Regions from separate parts of the Homo sapiens genome. Here region 1 is linked to region 2. Evidence: promoter capture Hi-C in human tissues and cell types (Jung and others, 2019). All regions are on one chromosome and are shown on one strand. The core of a region is centred on a gene start or on the middle of the fragment in contact, and the rest is flanking DNA. Distances in the headings are between cores, read along the strand shown.

Region 1 (7,271 bases), core at 3,012-5,511, 110 kb before region 2:
GCACAAGCCTGTAATCCCAGCTTCTTGGGAGGCTGAGGCAGGAGAATCCCTTGAACCCGGGAGGCAGAACTCGTTGCAGTGAGCCGAGATTGTGCCACTTCACTCCAGCCTGGGCGACAGAGGGAGACTCTGTCTCAAAAACAAACACATTAGGATACTTATCTAATGCTAATTATATTGAATAATTTGATACATCGTATTATTTATTGACACTGAAAATACAAGCTAAGTCCTGTGGAACAGAGCAATTCAAACTTGGGTGTGCACGTGAATTACCCAGGGATCGTATTAAAATGCAGATTCTGACTCAAGACGTCTGAAGCAGTGACTGAGATCCTGTATTTCTAACAAGTTTTGTCTCTCTGATGATGCTGATGCTAGAACCACACATTGAGTAGCAAAGCTATAGAATTGTGTTACTCAAGCTTCATGTGAACATCAAACATCACATGGAGGGCTCCTTACAACACTGTTCCTGGACCCCACACTCAGAGGTTCTGATTGGGTAGATCCGAAGTGGGATCTTGGAGTCTGCACTTTACACAAGCTCTTAAGTGAGTCTGATACTGCACGTGAGTTGATTAGATGTTGAATAGCATACAAGACAACCTGGTTGAGCATAAAATGCCAGCCAGATCTTTATTTACTAGGCCAAGCACAAAGTTTTGCATAACAGGATATTTTAGATAAATAAATGTTAGCATGCTTTGGAACATTCCAAAAAAAGAAACGTTAGCAATTTCTACAAGTCAGTTACAAATTAGAAAGACTGTGGCTGGTGGGAAAGAACATTGGAGGTGGGTTGACTTTTCCCCCAGAAAATAATAAGAGATGTGAAACGTCAAATGCGAACATTTGAGTTCATATGGAGGAAGTGTTTACCACATTTGGCTCCTCATCATATGCAAAGGAGCGGGAGAAATCTTTACACTTTGGCCAGCAGTCAGTGTGATTTGCTGTCAACATCAATAGATAAAAGATTGGGAAGGGTAGTGGGGGGCTAGGTAGGGATAGTTAATGTGTACAAAACCATAGTTAGAAAGAATACGACCTACTATTTGATAGCACAATAGGGTGACTATAGTCAATAATAACTGTATATATTAAAGTAACTTAAAGATTGTAATTGGCTGGTCTGTGACTCAAAGGATAAGTGCTTGAGTGAATGGATACCCCATTCTCTATGATGTGCTTATTTCCCATTGCATGCCCATATCAAAACATCTCATGTACCCCATAAATATATACACCAATTATGTACCCACAAAAAATTTTTTAAAAAAGAAAAAAAACAGTTAATGAGAATTAAAAGAAATTCAAGACTTGAGGAGGGTAAAGTCCTATAGTGCAAACCCAGAAGTGCTTGAAAGATTCAAGTTAGCTAAGAGAGCCAAAGAGGACTAAGGATGAAATAAAAATCCTAGAATTGTTTCATAATAATAAGGGCAGGGACAACCTTGGTGAGTAAGCTACCTGTGAAGCCACATTCCAGGCTTTCAATTTGAATCAGTAATGCAATGATGAGAAGGAATAATGCCTGCTTAAAACAAGCAGGGCTTTTTTTTTTTTTACCTGTTATTTATGGGGCCAGAAGAGATAGCATTAAGTTGCAGTTCATGAACAGATTCCCTGGCTGTGAACGCCTGATGAGACAAGAAACACCAGCTTTTCTCAGAGGAAACAATTACATGTGGGGTTTTTAGGAGGAGACAAGTGTCCTGGCAAAAGGATATAGTCCAGACCCCAATCTTCTATGTATAGCCCAGCTCACACAGGCCTCTAAGGCAAGGATAAAGAAAAGAACTGAAGACTTCACCAGATTAGCTACAATAGATAAGTTACAATTAGTTACAATAGATAAGTTACTGTAGTAAGAGATGCCCACTCTTCACCATATACCTGAAGGTTTTGCCATTTTCAGAAACATCTTGCTGAAGTCCAGCATCCAGTAGTGCACAAGTTTACCTGACGGCTTTGTCCATCTCCCAGGGAGGAAGGCTAAGTCCTCATCCAGTGACTGCCTGGAGATGATGGATAAATACCCCAGCTCCCTTGCTCCTCTGATGGATACATTGAGACATGGCGAAGTATACTGGCTCCTAGAATTCCCCAGTGGGGCTAAGCTCCAGTTGCTCAAATTGCAAACCTTATTAACTACTTTCCCTTCTCTGTCTCACTTCCCTCCCCTCCTACTGTTATTTCTTGAAATTGCCTTCCAAATAAATAACTTGCACTCAAATTCTTGTCTCAGGTTCTGCTTCTAGAGGAACCCAAACTAAAACATGTGGGTTTTGGTAGCATATTAGAAAGAAGAATTAGAATATCTGAGGACAGAATAGGCCACTATTCTGAGATCGGGTTCCCATAAACACCACTGTTGGCTGGATGTGGTGGCTCACGCCCGTAATCCCAGCACTTTGGGAGGCTGAGTCAGGCAGATGAGGAATTCAGCACCGGGAGTTCAAGACCAGCCTGGACAACATGGCGAAACCCTGTTTCTACTAAAAAGAAAAAAGAAAAAAAAATAGTTGGGCTTGGTGGCACATTCCTGTAATCCCTGCTACTCCAGGTGCCGAGGCATGAGAATTGCTTGAACTCGGGATGAGGATGTTGCAGTGAGCTGAGATCACGTCACTGCACTCCAGCCTAGGCAAAAGAGGGAGATACTGTCTCAAACAAAAACAAAACAAAAAACGCAAAAACAAAAAAAACTAAACAGCACTGTCAAAGCGCTGAGTGGAAGAAGAGCCACAAGCAACGTTGCCAGAAATGCTGTCAGAAAGAATTCCATGACATTGATTTGACATTAGTTTCAGAGGCAGATACAAAACAGACTAAGATGCCTTAGTTGATACGTGTATACATGCCTGTGTATGAGTCAGGACACGTACTTAACATCTATATGAGACAAATGGAACCATTTGCATTGCCTGAGCACACATACAGAAAGCTTGTTCTGCTCATCATGCTGGGGACTAATTTCCTAACATTTGAGTTTCTCTAACATATAGCAATATTCATTTTCCTTATTTCCTACAGTGACAATATATTTACACATACTTATACTCTATTATATACTAGACAGTGTTCTTTATATTATAATGACATAAGGTTTTGGCTTAGTCATATATAACATTAATTATAAATGTACATGTAAGTTTTTCTCCTTTTTTAAAGAATTACTTTCCTTTTCTCTAGAATTACTATAAGGACATAGAACTCCTTGTTAAATATTATAATTTAAAGCACACAAAGAACAATTCTACAATGGAAGCAGAGCATGTTGGGACAGACTTGTACTTTGGAGTCAGGTACTGCCTTAATTATATGACCTACAAAAGTCTCTGATTCCCATTTCCTTGTATGTAAAATATCAATAAATAACATTTCCATCATTTAGATTTACATAAGAAATATCTAGATGCATCTAAAATGTCTAGAACATTTCCTAGCATAGACAGGCAATAAATCAATAGATGTATATGTGTTTATAACAGGAATTACTATTATATATCAGACATTATGCATAAAATATTATTACAAATCACAGTATTACAGGAGATGACTTTTAGATAGCTTAAGTTTTGTTTGTTTACTTTGTGTGCATTTTACCTTGTGTGAATTGACTGATACATTAAAGAAAACACTAGAAATCCATATCAATGTTTCCTTCATTTGTTTCAAATCCATTTACTCAATATTCTACACAATGCTCATTTTCAAAGGTTTCAAAACCACTTCATTACTGCCTCAAGTAAGAAAGAATGGTATTTTGCTGTGTGGAGAAAAGTTGTTTTTTATTTGTTTGTTTTTCATTTTGATTATGGTACCAATGTTTGAAAAACACTGACTTCCTCTGAGAGTGAATTCCTGGCACTCCACGATGCTGCTGCCTTTCTGAGGATGGATGAAATGAACAGCAGTGCTGTAATGAACTCTTTGGGTAAATGTCCCAGTAATGTCTCTGACACCACAAGATGCTGATCTGGCTAAATCCACAAAGTAGGAACTTGTAAAGTAATCACAACCCACCCACACTTAAGGGTGATTTTCATGTATTCTCTCAAGTCAGTGACTGATGGTAAAATACAAAACCCTTGAGTATGGGGCAAAATAGACTGGCAAGCACCCGTTAATGACAAATATTTACATAGTATTGGGTTTCAGCAGACATTAATACTTTTTAAAAAATAAAATATTTTCAACCAGTCTAGAAAACAAAAGAGGGGAATAGATCCCTTCTGTGTTTGCATTATAATAACAATGGCATCCTCAAAAATAACGGCAATCACTTTACATTTATTGAGCACAGCCTATATACTAGGAAGTAAAATAAGTATTCTATATCATCTTATTTCTTATGACAACATAACCACCCTTATTTAAACCACTATTAAATCATGTTGACTGACAATATGCAATTAATATTTTGTCCATGTTCAATGGTTTTTAAAACAACATTAATTTTCATTTCTTCTTTGCTGATTATTTCATGAGCATTAATTCTGAAGTTTCAGAGGGCAATTGCTTTTTTGGAGTACTGTAATATTGATCTTACCATATTTTATCACAAAGCCTGATTATAAACATTTTATAAATACCAAGCTATTACTTAGTACATGATTTAAAATATATAAAGCACTAATTTATCTTGCACTCAAAAATGACAAAATAATGAGAGAAAATCAATTATTTTAGCCCTAAAGCAAGAGAGACTATTGGTTGCAAAAGATTTACAAAATCAGTCAATCAGTTTTATGAATAGCTGCCAAATTATATAATGAGATTTGAGAACTGAGAATGAGCTTCTCTCAAAATATCAGTTCCAGTCCTCACCATAATGTTTGACATTAACATATAAATATTCATTGCTGTGTGTCCTAATGGATTTTCAAATTTGTGATATCACTTATCGGACTATAAATGTCATGTGGTAGGTGTATCAATTTTCTCAGGCATGGAGTGTACCAAATTGCCAAAAATTTGTGGGTAAAAACAACACAAACTTATTATCTTACAGTTCTGTGGTCCAAAAATCTGACACAGGTTTCACTGGGCTGAAATCAAGATGTCAGCAGGATGCATGCTTTTTTTGGAGGCTTTATGAGACAATTCATTTCCTTGTCCTTTCCAGCTTGCAGAGGTTGCACAAATTCCTTGGCTTATGGCTCCCTTCCTCTATCTTCAAAGCCAACAAAAGCAAGTTGAGTCATTCACAGATTGCATAACTCTATTCTCCTTCCACAGCCTCCTCTCCCTCTGAATCTCCTTTTAGGCCTCCTTTGACTTTTAAGGCCCTTGGTGATTACACTGGGCCCACCTGTGTAATCCAGGGTAATCTTACTATGATCATCTGATTAACAACCTAAAATCCATCTACAATCCCAATATGCCTTTTTTATAGAGATATCATACCTATAGGTCCCAACGTTAAGGTAGTGAACATCTTTGGAAGGCCATTCTACTCACCATGGTGGGATATATATTACTGATGACATGAATTCACTTATTGTGCCTAAGTATCTCCTGAGTACCTACTATGTTTCTAGCACCAGGTTAGGCTCTGGAAAATTAACGTAAATAAGACAGTAATCAGCTGTACTTATCACACAGCTCTCACTGCTCTAAATAAATCTGGGAAAGTCTGGAGTAAGCATAAAGGCAATTCAACAAAATGCATGATTCTTATCTTTGGAAGCTTGCATTTTAAATTTTGGTCTTATTAACCCCAAACTGAGAGCAAGCAAATCAAATTTTTTTAAAAAATGTGTACCACTGAGAAGGCAAAGGGCAGTTTCCAATTTTAAAAAATTGCTCATTTTACTATTTTGCCCGAGGCTAGTTTTTATAAACAGATTATAAAAGACGTGGCAAGAATATAATAGAGCTATACTATACCCATATGGTATTTTTTAGGCAAATAGTAAATTACAGTTCTTTCTCATTATTCATAGATACTGTATTGTGAATTTGCCTACTAGCTAAGATTTATTTTTAACCCCAAATCAAAGCTTTATGTGCTTCAGTGGTCATTTGTGAATGTGCCCACAGCAGTGAAGACTCTGGGCTGCCCAACGTACCTGCTTCCAACTGAGTTCAAACAAGGTGGCACTCTGCCTTCCTGTTTCAGCTACAATACTGTAAACAAGTGTTTTTTTTCATTATCTATTCATTTTTCACATTTTTGTGCATTTTTTGGTGATTTCCCTGTTTAAAATGGGCCCCAAACGTAGAGCTGAAATACTGCCTTATGTTCCTAAGTACAAGAAAGCTGCCATGCACCTTACGGAGAAAATATGTGTTAGGGAAGCTTCATTCAGTCATGAGTTATAGTGCTGTTGGCCATGAGCTCAATATTAATAAATCAGCACTACAGACTATATAAGGTGTCTTTAAACAGAAACATACGTAAAACAAGGTTACGTATTGATGGGTGGACAAAAATATTGCAGTCAGAGGCTCACGGGACTCTAATTGTGTATTTACCCACTACTCTCTAATTCAGTGTTCACAGGAACTTTATAGAACATAATTTCCACGCATAATGAGAATCAACTCACTCTCTCTACACACACACACACACACACACACACACACTTCTAATTAAAGTGTTAATTTTTGTATAAATATGAGAAAAGACTGAAAGGAAACATTGCTATATATAAATAATTTTTGCATGAAGAAAAATTACAGTTGTTTCTATTTTTATATTTTCTCTGTATTTTTCAGGTTTGAATTTATAATCAAAATTGCTAAAATAAAAAAACAAGGTATTTTTATCCTATCTTAAAAACAATCTCTAGTCCCTCCTAAGGCAGTCCCTGTGAGATGACATAGCATAGCAATGGTTCAGTATTTGATAATTCATTGTCCATGGAAACTTTATAAAACATAACTGTCAGGGAAAGTGAGAATCAGCTGTACTTATCACATAGCTCTTGCTGCTCTAAATAAATCTGGGAAAAATCTGGAGTAAGCATCAAGGCAAATCAACAAAATGCGTTATATTGTTTAAAAAAAGGATCTTTAAATATTTATAATTATGCTCCTGTCATGTAAACTGTTTCATACTTTATAAGTTGCACCTGTCAGGTGTCAGAATAATTCATATGTATATCTTCACTATATTTATACCTTAGGCTATTTTCCTTCAAAAAATGTTGCAACCGGTTGAATGCTGACTGTAAATTAACTCATTGATTTTTTAAAAAATTTAAATACTTCACATTTGGCTCATGTATTGAAAAATATGATTTCCCTGTTGTTCTTAC
Region 2 (6,694 bases), core at 1,415-3,914:
TATAAAGTCTTGTCCAGAAGAATTATTGGAGTCATTATAATACTTTAGAAATGCATATGCTGGTTGATAGTTGCTTGTCCTTACACTAAATTCCAGTCTTGCTGGGAAATATATATACACTTGTCCTTCCAAAAAGGATGAAACATATGAAGTACTTTCCACCATGGCTTGGTACAAGTAGACCTTACTTCTTCCAAAAAGAAAATACTTCTTAAATATTGAAAAATGAAATAGAAATTGAGAAATGAAATATTTTCTTTTACACATACTGCTGCAAATCATATTGTCAAAATATTCACAATAAATTACTGAGTGCAACTTTAATTATATAAGGTCATTTCATTTTATTTTTGACACTTGAAGAACAGTCAACTCCACATGCATGGTAAGCAAGAACTCCAACTTTAAATGTTTTTTATAATGAAAAATCGTATAGGTTTTGCAAGTTCATCAGATGTTTAAAAGAGCATTAGACTACTTCCTTAACAAACCAAGGCTGAAAGAATATAGAACCAGCACTGAAATTTTAAGTGTCAGTGAGGGATCCAACCAGAGCCAAGCAGACATAAATATTACACTCTCCTCAGATCTCTTTCAGCACCTTTTCTTTTCTAAGAAGATATATGGCAAAAGAAAGCTATTTAATGTTGATGTACACCCTACACTTTTTATTGAGCTTCAAGAAAACAAGCAAACATAAACAACTAGCAGCCCAAATAATTAGATTAATGTATTTTAAACCCAACTACAGGCAGTCTAGTGGAAAGACTGAATGGAGTACAGGCCAGATTTAAGCTCTGCTTTTCTTGAGGGAAGGATGCTTGGGGTGATGTGCTTTACATTGTAAGAGTGACCTCTAGTGCTTTTCTTTTTGGTTGAACTTTAGTGGTTGGAAGATGAATTACTTATGCCTTTTCTACAGAACTTCCATTTGTGTGTGGGTGTTGTTGTTATTGTTTGCTTGTATGATGCAATGTTTTTCTAATGCTACCATTATAAGATTCCAAGGTTTTGACTAGGTGAAATTATACATTTTATTGACTTATGAGATTATCACAACACTCAAACTAAAGTTGAATCTGATGTGCAGCACCTGAAGTGAGGTTCCTTCTTTCAGAGTGATGGATACCCTGTGACATTAAATGAGCCCATTCTGAACTGAAACACGAAATCACGGGAGCCAGGTACTGTGAGGGGACATTTGACTTGTGCCCATGAGTTTGTCATGTTTTTCACATATCAGAACTCTTAACATAGTCAAGTGATATGCCATAGCAAATGTCTGATTACTGCCTCTGTTCCCCAAATCTAAGCCTGATGATACAGCAGCAACATAAATTCCTGGACAGGCCTCATAGCCAGTTCTTGGAAAGCAAATGAGCTTTTCCTTTAAAATCCAAGAAAAAATAAAAAGTTGTATTTGCCAAGCTTGTTTGTCATTAATCAGGAGGGGAAAATTCTCCCATTTAGAGAATTTAAGCCAAAGATAACTTTTAAAACTTTTTCTATCTCTAATAAAGAGTGGATGAAGGGAGTCTGCCAAATTATTATGGATGATATCTAAATTATAAATAAGATTTCAATCTTCCCTAAATAGGTTCTATTTCATCAGAACATTCAATTACAAATTTATGCAGTTAAGCATTCAACCACAAAGGAATCCTACTTTTGAAAGACCACCTGACTGGTTTTCCTTTAAGCGAAATGTAGGAAGAGGCTCCTCTTTCCGGAGAGCGCTAAGTCTCATTCTCTTAGCAGCGAGGGCACAGCTCTTAATACTGAGACTCGCCTCAGCCAGTGCTGGTGCTCCTGAAGCCTGCAGTACATTTCAGTTATTAGCCTGCATTATTTTAAAGATGCAGGCAGCTACTGGTCTGCCCAATTGCAAACTTCAGAAATCTAAGCCAATGCAGCATAATGTAAAGTCTGCCAGTTGTTTTCCTCTTAGACATAATTCCAATAAAATTCAGTAGTTCTTTAAAAAAGAAGAAATGAAGATATTCACAGGCTATTCCCCCGATAAGATGCTAATTTCATGTTTTACTAGAACTTGGGCATTCTCAATGAATACTCAAAGACCAGAGGGTAAGATTCTGCGAGTAGACAAAAAGAGAAATGACACTTTGCCTATTTTGACCAGACCAAGAGGAGAGACAAGTGTTAACCGGTCACATTGGCAAGATTTTTAAGTGATGCTTGGTTTACAGCAATACGCTTTGCAGCAATCCCAGCTGCAAATAATCATCATCAAACCAACAGAATCAAAGTTTTGCAGAGAGCCCCCCAGCAAGTTTTAAATCATTTGCTGTATACTTACAGGAATTCCCAGCTTCGACTCTGTTCCAATTTTGAGTAGATAACAGAAGTAGCGTCTTGAGGACAGCTCCCGTGACAGATCCCATGTTCACATTTATTGGGCTCCCCCAAAAGATCTTGAGAGGCTCTCAGAGCGCTCCAGTCCTCTTCTCAGTAGCTCTGCCAGCTCTGTCTGGGTCTTCAGCCCCTCTAGGTCTCTGTCTCTCCCCCTCCCTTCCTCCTCACCTCCCTCCGTCTTTTCTTCTTCCCTCCTCCCTCTCTTCTCTCTCCCTCTCTCTCTCCCCGTCTCTGTCTCTCTCTTTTCTCTCTCTCTCTCACACACACCTCCCTGACTCCTCACTGAAAAGCACTCAGCATCTTTCCTAACAAGCATCCACACCGCCGAGGCCACGCCCACTCCTCGCAGCAGCGGTCCCACAAATTGGCAGCAGCATCCTTCCTTCCAAACACACAACAGCGCTCGAGCTCCGCTGCACCCAGAGGCGCGGCCTCCCGTTCGTGGGCCTCCTTGGGGCTCCCTCCCTTCTCTTCTATTTTCCAATAATCCTTAACCCTTTTCTCCCAGCTGGAGGTGTGAGTGGGGGAAGGGACAAGGCGGTGGAGCCTTCTGATTTTCTGGAGGTCTTGCATTTGCAAGAGCCAGAAAACACACTGAGCCATTCCTGATTATCCGGGAGTGCATCCAGGTAAAATTGCATTATGTTTCAAAACAAAAGCATAAAATAAGACAGAAATAACTAAGCAGCATTGGGAAATTGTAGCTAAAACCGTCCTCAGGGAAAATACTTGCTGTTGTTTTTCTCTGTTTCTATAAAACTGTACTCTTCAGCGAGGGTGCCAGGATTTTATTATGGAAATTCCCCACATGGGAACAGACATTCCTGCTTAGCAGATATTTAAAATCATCTGGTAGTAGTCTGCAAGAAATTAACATTTCTTATTTTAATGCTTCAGGTGTATAAATCCACAAATGAAATGCTTTGGCTAGATTTATGTTGATGAATGCATCATGCTGTGAATATGAAGTACCATTCTATAATCAAAATTTTTAATAACATTTCCAAAAAGGCCCAAAGTAGGAAATGAGGGAATACTGAAGAAAGGGACCTCCACCACCACCACATACACACATGCATACACATTCACACAAACACTGAACAATGTGACGATGTAATTCAGGTGACTTAAAGGAGAGAGGAGTAAAGTTGAATTTGGAAGATCAATGATTAAAGAAAAATTACTCTTTGAATGGCTGGTCCATGGATACAACTGTTTCTTGAATGGAATTTTAAAATGTCTAAATAATGGAGTTACTATCACATAACAAGAAGCATGTCACATGGTTCATAGCAGATAAATAATCTATTTAAAATAAATGTCAAGATGTTTTACTGATAATGTGCTAGATTTTATACAAATGGAAATCCTGGAGTTCTTAAGTGCCTCTTGGTAATCACAAATTGGAAGAAACATAAGCCTTTAACACCACTTTCTTATGGAATAATGAGAGTGGGTTTGTCAAAGATCAGATAGGTTTGTCAAAGAGTGAGAAAATGACAGAAATACCCGTAAGAACTAAACATGCTTGTTTAGCTCATGCCTGCAAACAAAGCAGAATGCATCTTTTTTCTTTTCCTGTTTTACAAGAGAAAACAAGAACAGAGAATTTAAATGATTCGAAGAGGTCATAGAGTTAGTAATAAATGCTGAGGACTGGATTTGGCTTTTCTGACTCCAGTTTTACTGCTCTCACCCTAGGACTTATTGCCCCTAAATCAGAGTATACCTCCTTCCTGACCCTTGTCAGTGGCAGCAAAAACCTTAGGCCCTAGGAAAACACAGCAAACACTTTGGGAGGCCAAGGTGGGCAAATCACTTGAGGTCAGGAGTTCGAGACCAGCCTGGCCAACATGGTGAGATCCCATCTCTACTAAAAATAAAAAAAATAGCAGGGTGTGGTCGCAGGCAACTGTAATCCCAACTACTTGGGAGGCTGAGGCAGGAATTCGCTTGAACCCGGGAGGCAGAGGTTGCAGTGAACCAAGATTACACCACTGCACTCCAGCCTGGCCAATAGAGCGAGACTCTGTCTCAAAAAAAAAAAAAAAAAAAAAAAGGATAAATACAATAAAATAAAGAAAGGTCATGGGTTGAGTGTTTATTCTGTGTTCCTAGACTTGCATTCCTGATTTTATTTTTTCAATCATATGCTAAGTAAAAGCAGATATAAATTAACAGTTTATGTTAACTAATTATTGAAGGAGATTAAATTTTACTGAACACATACTATATGCCATTTGTTATCTAATTGAATAATTATATCAGTCCTTTGAAGAAAATATCATGTCTGTGGGACGGTTGTGGGCTCTCCAGAAGAAAAAAGTTGTCTCGTTGTTACAATATTGTATTTAATTGTTCTCTTAAAACAAATTAGAGAATGCATCTTAAATGGATAAGTACACATAGCAAAAATGAAAAATAAACATTTTATAACAATAATAACTTCTTTGGGACAATGTATAAATTATTATAGTGACCAATACTGGCGGATTTTTCCATATCAATGGGCTACAGTAATAGAAGGAATTGGGGGCTGGCCCTCAATAGAAGACCTGAGCATTTCAAGTCACTGCAAAACCTGTCTCTGCCTGATGGCTGCAGAGGGGTAGAGAGTTGCCTAGACAAATGAAACAGTGAGTGCTTGAGATATGGTAAACAGAGAGGCCTCAGCCGGGCGCGGTGGCCCACGCCTGTTATCCCAGCCCTTTTGGAGGCCGAAGCGGGCAGATCACGAGGTCAGGAGATCGAGACCATCCTGGCTAACATGGTGAAACCCCGTCTCTACTAAAAATACAAAAAATTAGCCAGGCATGGCGGCAGGCGCCTGTAGTCCCAGCTACGTGGGAGGCTGAGGCAGGAGAATGGCATGAACCCAGGAGGCGGAGCTTGCAGTGAGCTGAGATCGAGCCACTGCACTCCAGCCTGGGCGACAGAACAAGACTCTGACTCAAAAAAAAAAAAAAACAAAACAAAACAAAACAAAAAAACCAGAGCGGCCTTGATACAAGCTTCCACTGTTGTTTTGATTAAATGACTCAATGATGCTGACCTTTCGTTTATTTATTTTATGACCCGATAGGAGAATCATGACCAAAGAGTTACTGTGGTATAACATATGACAACTATTGAATGCCTTGTGCTTAGTGGGCCCTCACTTACTTCCCAGCTTTAGATCTCTGCATTAAAACTGTACAGAGAATTGGTCTAAGCAGGCAATGTCAGAGCTTGGCCACCCAGGTTCAGTGTCTGTACAGGTTCCACCACCCACTAGCTGCACGGCCTTGGGCAAGCTGCATCAGGATAATAATCCTTGATCCTTAATTTCCTCATCTGTGCACCAACGATGAGTACGGTATCAACCTCATGGTTAAGACAATGTCCTGTGAAATGAGCATGCCTAGGAGGCGCATGATCAATATTCCTTTTGTAATCATTATATTAGTACAACTCACACGACACAGAAAAGAAATCTGATGAGCAGAGGGATTACAGCTTGTGGGATATGACCCACTGGTGGCAGAAAAGGGTTCATCTCCAAGACCTACTAACTTATGCATCATTTCTCCATTCCCTCCAGGATGGTGTTTAACATCAGAAAATCGAAGGAAAAGTCAGAAAAGTGTGGAGATCTAATTTTGCACACCTGTACTGCTGATTCAGATTCCTTTAATCACTTCTCCCTGTGTCTGTATTTTGGTTATGTTTTCCACCAATTAAGAAAAGACCCTGGTGTTTAAGGTCTCCCACGTCCATACTATAGGTTACACCCTGCCTGGCAAAAGCCATGTAAATCAGATCAAAATGTTGAAATTCTTAAAATCAGGCTTTGAATTATTTTCTTGTTACAACTTGCCAGAGAACTGTATATCCCACCACAGTGGTCCATGGAGGATCCTAAACTATAGTTTAGACTAGAAAAGGGCCAGAAGGCAAGAGTGGAACTATATTACATTGAAAGACTAGAAAGAAATTAACATACAATGTTTTTGTTTCATTTATTCATCTAACAGTTATTTTACCCTACATTTCTATTATAGGAATCTTTTCATTTCAAATCTGGGTAATCATTTCATTTCTTTTACATTGTTTGATTTGTCTTTATATCTTCCAAATGAAATGGATACTTTTTAGACATTGTGCTTTTACCTTCATTTTTATTGTAGTTAAAAAAAATACAACATTAAATTTACCATCATAATCATTTTTAAGTATAGTTCAGTAGTGATAAGAATATTCACATTGTGATCCAACAAATCTCTAGAACTGAAACTCTATACCCATTAAACATTAAATCCCTCTCTTCCCTCCCCTCCTGCAG

Evidence for each region. Contacts are between HindIII fragments. The study calls those that stand out against the background at their distance.
Region 1: a contact is called between a fragment that was not itself captured here and the fragment with the promoter of CNTNAP4 in region 2, in 2 of the 25 tissues and cell types used here (dorsolateral prefrontal cortex and hippocampus).

The regions. Positions count from the first base shown.
Region 1 is chr16:76,384,874-76,392,144 of GRCh38, reverse strand. All of the region lies in intron 3 of CNTNAP4 (contactin associated protein family member 4), which reads right to left. Among named protein-coding and RNA genes, the nearest start is that of CNTNAP4, 110 kb to the right of the region's middle. The HindIII fragment of the contact is 5,146 bases long and covers 1,689-6,834 here.
Region 2 is chr16:76,273,371-76,280,064 of GRCh38, reverse strand. It overlaps CNTNAP4 (contactin associated protein family member 4), which reads right to left and starts at 2,664. Exons shown (of 24, transcript NM_033401.5): 1 at 2,318-2,664. The coding sequence starts at 2,402. The HindIII fragment of the contact is 9,673 bases long and covers 631-6,694 here.